Regions from separate parts of the Homo sapiens genome. Here region 1 is linked to region 2. Evidence: promoter capture Hi-C in 16 types of primary human blood cells and fetal thymus (Javierre and others, 2016). All regions are on one chromosome and are shown on one strand. The core of a region is centred on a gene start or on the middle of the fragment in contact, and the rest is flanking DNA. Distances in the headings are between cores, read along the strand shown.

Region 1 (3,477 bases), core at 14-2,513, 230 kb before region 2:
ATGGTAGTTCCTGCAGCAGGCGACCCTTGTTTCCAACAGTACCTCTTATTTAGACATACTCATTATTTCAGTATCGTCTTTGTAATTCACTGTTCTTCTAACTAACCAATTAATAAACTGTGTTTGGAAAACCATTTATTAGCAGCCAACTCAAGGATATCCCTGGTTGGAAATGTTTAGGCATAAGTCATATCATTATTGCTAGGTGCTGCCCTGACTTAAATCTCCTAAAAGAAATTTCTATAACCAGTGCTTGGGAGATAGGAATACCTATACCAGCTCTTTGACTAGCAGCTGCGTGATCTTGAGAAATCCACTTCCCTGGGCTGCACATTCATCATCTATAAAATTGGCAGGTGCTTTCTAAGGGTCTTTCTACATTTTATGTTAGATTTAAAATTCTAGACTTAAGAAACCTCAGTTTTTTATATTGGATCTTGACTGGGACAAGCTTAATGATTTCTATCATAATTACGATGCAGTAACAAAAAGTTGAGCTTTTTGTAGTCAACTTTCCAATATTATTCAGAAGTTTTCTGACTATCTTATAACATTTCTCTTCTTTTAAGTTTGAGGTTATCGAATCTAAGCAGCAGAAGAACCCTTAGTATGTCCTTGTTATTTTATAGTAAAAATCACATCTGGTTTGTGTAATCACCCCAGAGTAGCAATTTAGTAATGTCTTTCTAGAACTGTAAAGGTCATCTCCCATGATCCTATAGTCTCCTTGGAATCTATCTTAAGGAAATTATCAGAAATTTGAACAAAGATTTATACAGAGAGTTAATGAACCAAGCTACTTAACAAAGCAAAATAATAATATAATAATAAACACAATTGGAAAGAGCCAGATGTCTAGTAATGGGTGAATGGCTAGATAGGAAGATGATACATAGATAGATAGACGATAGACAGATAGGTAGACTGGTAGACAGATGATAGATAGATAGACAGGTAGACAGATGACAGATAGATAGACAGGTAGACAGATGATAGAGAGACAGGTAGACAGATGATAGATAGGTAGACAGATGATAGACAAGTAGACAGGTAGATGATAGGTAGATAGACAGGTAGATAGATGATAGATAGGCAGACAGATGCTAGGTAGATAGATAGACTGATAGGTAGACAGGTGATAGATAGACAAGTAGACAGGTAGACAGATGATAGGTAGATAGCTAGACAGGTAGATAGATGATAGATGGATAGACAGGTAGACAAATGATAGATTGGTAGATAGATAGATAGATAGATAGATAGATAGATAGACTGGTAGACATGATAGATAGATAGATAATGGATACATAGACATATAGGTAGACAGATGATAGATAAACAGATAGATATGTAGATAGATAGATGGACAGATACAGTAAATCCATACAATAGAATGTTATCACAATATTACCAATGATTTCTACAAGCTGCTTCACAACAGGGGAAATGCTCCTGACGTATATTTTCAAAATCAGATTGGAAGACAATTCTTCAAAATCTTAACAGCAATTCTACCTAGGGAGGGGTCTTTATGGGTGATTTTTATTTTCATTGTCATGCTTTTCTATATATTTTCCTAATTATTTAATAATTCCAATTACTTTAACAATCAGAAAAATAGTGACTTTTTTTTTTTTGAGATGGAGTCTCTCTCTGTTGCCCAGGCTGGAGTGCAGTGGCACGATCTCAGCTCACTACAACCTCTGCCTCCCGGGTTCAAATGGTTCTCCTGCCTCAGCCTCTTGAGTAGCTGGGATCAAAGACACGCACCACTACACCCAGCTAACTTTTTATATTTTTGGTAGAAATGGGGTTTCACCATGTTGGCCAGGCTGGTCTCGAACTCCTGACCTCAAGTGATCCACCTGCCTTGGCCTCCCAAAGTGTTGGTAGTACAGGCGTGAGCCACTGCGCCCGGCCAAAACAGTGACTTTTAAAAAGAGAAATCATTGTGCTTTTCTAAGCCCTGTGGTGTTGAAGGCTTTGTTTGGTTCTGTGGTGGATTCATAGCTGAAGTGGAGAATCTAGCAACCCACTTGCTTTTGAACAGGACTCAGTGCATTATGGTGTTCAATGAAGCTTTGGTTCATGATCAAATGAAGACTTAGAAAAAAATAAAGTATAAAGAGTCAAGGAAAATAATTTTTTTTTTCAAATGAATGCTGCAGAATTTTTTTTTTTTTTTGAGACAGAGTCTTATTCTGTCTCCCAGACTGAAGTACAATGGTACAACCTCAGCTCACTGCAACCTCTGCCTCCTAGGTTCAAGCGATTCTCCTGCCTCAGCCTCCCTAGTAGCTGGGACTACAGGTGCATGCCACTATGCCGGACTAATTTTTGTATTTTTAGTAGAGATGGATTTTCACCACATTGGCCAGGCTGGTCTTGAACTGCTGAGCTCAAGTGATCCGCCTGCCTTGGCCTCCCAAAGTGCTGAGATTATAGGCATGAGCTACCACGCCTGGCCGGAATGCTGCAGAAAATAATTGTGATGAATGGAGAGGGAAGAGTGATCACAGGAGCCTGGTGGAAATGAAGTCTTTATGAGGGACACCTGTATTCGTCTGTGCAGGCTGCCATAACAAAATACCACAGACAGGGTAACTTAAACAACAGAAGTTTATTTTCTCTCAGTTCTCGAGGTTGGAAGTCCACGTTCAAGGTGTATCTTTGATTTCTCCTGAAATCAGTCTTTCCTTGGCTTTCCTGGTCTGTGCAACCGCATCACTGGTGTCTCTCTGTGAGTCTAAATTTCCTCTTTTTATAAAGACACCAGTCAGATTGGATTAGAGGCCACCCTAACAGCTGCATTTTAACTTATCACCCCCTTACAGGCCCTATCTCCAAATGCAGTCACATTCTGAGGTACCGGGCATTAGGGCTTCAATATGTGAACCTGGTGGGACACAATTTAGTCCTTAACACACCCATCCTAAATGATTCCCTTGAGAGGCTGAGCGGCAGGGAAGCTGGGAAGATGATTATTCTTCAACTGCCAGCAGGTGTTGGTGGAGAGATGCTTGTCGAACCGAGGAGGGGAGGCGTTAATTCCCTGGCATTTCCAGCCAAAGGCCACAAACTTCATGCCTGAGGAGGTAAGTATGGGCAACTCCAGCTGAGACAGCAGTCAAAGATTTTTATCTGGAGCCCAAAAGTCCCTGTAGGGATGTTTTTGGAGGAAAAGTGAGGTACCAAGTTAGAAGAGTCAGAATGCAAGAAATTATTTCCTCCTTGGCTAAGAAATTAGACTTGACCCTATAGATAGTGGGGAATCATTAGACACTATTTATATAATACTTGCATAACTTCCCTGATTTTTGTTTTGCTTTGTTTTGTTTTTAACTCCAGGGACTAAAAGTGACTGTTCTATGTGAGACTATAGAAGTGTTGTTGCTTATGAACACGGAGCATTTAAATAAAGATAATCTTGGCAAACAAGTCTTGGGGTTGAAATAAAAGATAGCCTTTGTTCTGCCA
Region 2 (3,283 bases), core at 68-2,567:
TTTCACCATGTTGGCCAGGCTGGTCTCGAACTCCAGACCTCAAGTGATCTGCCTGCCTCGGCCTCCCAAAGTGCTGGGATTACAGGCATGAGCCCCCACGCCCAGTCAGCACTTTCATTTCACTATTCTGTAAATCTGAAACTGCTCTAAAAAATAAATTTAAAAGACACATCAACTAAAGAAAAAAAATCAGGCTTTTAAAGAATTGAAGTTAGTGAAGTTAGTTTTATTCAGAGTCTTACTGAGGACTGCAACCAGGGAGAGCCCAGAGAATTTCTGTTAAACTACTCCAAAGCAGTGGGTCAGCACACTTTAAATATTAGGTGGTAGAGGTTCTGCCCAGGGGTTACATTAAAAGTGCCCAGAAGCTATATAAGATCAAAATATTTTCAAAGTTTGGGTGCGAGAGTAAGTCTAGGCATCATCATTAATCTTGTCCGTTAGGTACAGAAAAAGGCAAGGCCTAGATCTCTGAAAGTATCTTTTCTAAAAATGCAGTGACTCTGAGAGGTGGGAACCTGAGTTCTCTCCGCAGTCTTCAAGGCATTCTTCTGGAGGGCTGAGATGTTACTAAGTCAAGGGGTCTGAAATGCTGACAAACACAGTGAACAAACGTGGCTTTTTCACAGTGAGGGAGGACTATGCTGGGGGCCAGAAGCAGACGTTCGCTACTTTGTCTCACATTTACAATTCTCGGATTTGCTTCAAAACATTGCCCGAAGAGTGCCTGGGCTGCAGATGTAGACAAGATTAACCATGAATTGATAAGGTAGAAACTAGATGATAGGCACACAAGGGTTCCCTTATGAAATTGTTAGAAAAGTTCCATAGCAAAAAAAAAAAAAAACAAAACTTAAAAAGCTTGTCTTTAAGTAACACCAACAGGTATAATCACATGCCCTCAGTCAGGAAGCAAAGAAAAAAAGTATGAGCACGTGTGTGTTTACTTTCCAAGACCAGGCAGAGGCTGTTGATTATTTGGAAAACCTTGGAAGACCTTTAAGTGGCCACGGTGACCCAAGTGACCTTCGAGGAGACAAAGTCTGCATCTTTGCGCCCAAATTTGCCAAAGGCGTTGCCAGAGACATCTTTCTAGAAGAAGCTAGAACAAAATAAAAGTTTCTGCAAAGGAACTTTTTGAGCCTGTAACTAGAGCACAAGCTGCTTCCGGGGAAGGCGGAGGGAACACGTGGGCACATTGAGTTGCACGTGGACGCGGAGTGCGCAGGCGTGCGCTGAGGCCAGGAGGGCGCACTGGGGATTGGAGGCGAGGGAAGTGCAGGGCGCATCCCAGGCGGCAGGGCTCCCAGCATCGGCAGTCGCCATCACCGCCAGACCGCAGAGACAGGTTCGGATCCGCGGTCCTCTTGCCTCTTTCCAGGTCAGGGTTCCCAGGCGTATAGGGGAGGGAGAGGGCCTGCATGAAGGGGAAGGGAGGGGGCTTCGGTCGTTGGGGGCCAGACGTTGGGCGCTGGACGTTGAGGTTGGGCGTTGAGCGGGTACAAGGGGCCTGGAAGTGGAGAGAGGAGACTTGGAACCTTGCTGCGAGGGTTTGGTGTGGGAGGATTCTCTGAGTTTGGAAATAGCGCTTCCAGGCATCACTCCTTCAAATGCAAACGTTCACCTTCTCTCTAAGAGAAACTTGCATGTGGATTCAGTGCCTTCGTTTGACTAAAAATTACGATACAAACAATATTAACATTTACTAGACTTTTTTTTCCCTACTTTCCTCCTATAGGAAAGGAAGATGTGCTAGGGCATTTACTTAGATGTGGGTCAGCTGGCGCTAGTTTGTTTAAGGAGTTCCTGCTGTGTGCCAGTAGCTTTTCCGGGCCCTAGGGTCCTTGCTATAAATACGTTAGCCCTGCTGGGCTTCTGAACTAAGGGAGCTAAATGCTTCCAGCTTCCTTAGTGAGGCAGCACGGTGCTGTATGCTTAAATCCAAGGCCGTGGAGTCTGACCTGCGTTTTTATCTAAACTGTGTAAGGTGCTGGCCCTGGGTGGTTTGGTAAGTTATTCCAACTTCCCACGTCTCCCTTGTTTATCTGTAGGAATAACGAAATAAAAATACTTTAGTCCTCAAATTATTTTCATCTTAAGCCTGCAAGCTGGTTCCACAGGAATGGAAGAAATTTTGTGCTTGTAGGAGTGGTATAAAAGTAAAGCAGAAATAATAGCTGCCCTTTAAGCCCTTAGGAAGTACTAGCCACTGTGCTAAGTGATTTACTTCGTCTCTCATTTAATTCTCGTGATTAGGATTTGTGAGGAAGTTAACTACTGCCCTCTGCATTTTACAGTCGCTGAATCCTAGAAAGATGAAGTGATTTGCCCAAGATAGCGTGGCTAAATGAGGAAGACGAGACTTACCTGGCTGACTTAAGAGCTCATGCTTTACCGAAGCGTTGCGTTTTGTCTGTTTAAAACCGGAGTGTTTTTGTTTGTTCTTTGAGTAAGAGTTTCACTCTTGTTGCCCAGGCTGGAGTGCAATGGCGCGATCCCAGCTCACTGCAACCTCCGCCTCCCGGGTTCAAGCGATTCTCCAGCCTCAGCCTTCCTAGTAGCTGGGATTACAGGCCAGCCACCGGCGCCCTGCTAATTTTTGTATTTTTAGTAGAGACAGGGTTTCACCATGTTGGCCAGGCTGGTCTCCAACTCCTCACCTCAGGTGATCCGCCCACCTCGGCCTCCAAAGTGCTGGGATTACAGGCGTGAGCCACAGCGCCCAGCCAAAACCGGAGTGTTTTCTTTGAGTAGAATGGTTCTTGCAGAATACATGGGGTTGCCAGGAAGACAAAAGCAAACATCAGAGAAGGAAAAAAATGACAGCTGAGTATCTGTGCATACACTTTTGTTGTTAAAAGAACTCCAGCCTGTGGTATCCTAGAGGGAGAAGAAATGACTTACCCCACTATTCATAGTGTATCTTAGGAAGCCCCCAGCAACATCAGGGAGAACCGATAGGATTCCAAAGAAAAGAGAGGGTCTACCCTTAGGGAGCTTCAGGACTTAATGGGTTCAAAGCGTGAAGTACAGAACAAAGAAATCCAGAAAGCTGAGCCCTCATTTTTGCCTGTAGAACTATAGAAATGAGTCACTTTCAGTCCACTACTCTTCTAGTACATCAGTGATTCCTAATTCTGAGAAAATGAGGTACTCTTTAACGTAGAGAAATGTTGAGACCCTTCTAGTTAACCTTTTATGTTAGCTGAATCAACATTTAATTACTGTGGATTCCAGAATGATTAAATATATTTCTATTTATCACTAGTAGCATGAAAAAATA

Evidence for each region. Contacts are between HindIII fragments. The CHiCAGO score rates a contact against its expected background, and 5 or more counts as called.
Region 1: a contact is called between a fragment that was not itself captured here and the fragment with the promoter of TDRD1 in region 2, in 1 of 17 cell types (neutrophils). The highest score is 5.1, in neutrophils.

What each region holds. Positions count from the first base shown.
Region 1 is chr10:113,949,327-113,952,803 of GRCh38, forward strand. No RefSeq gene overlaps it. Among named protein-coding and RNA genes, the nearest start is that of ADRB1, 93 kb to the right of the region's middle. The HindIII fragment of the contact is 1,628 bases long and covers 450-2,077 here.
Region 2 is chr10:114,178,036-114,181,318 of GRCh38, forward strand. TDRD1 (tudor domain containing 1) reads left to right here and starts at 1,318. Exons shown (of 25, transcript NM_001395205.1): 1 at 1,318-1,381. The HindIII fragment of the contact is 8,256 bases long and covers 860-3,283 here.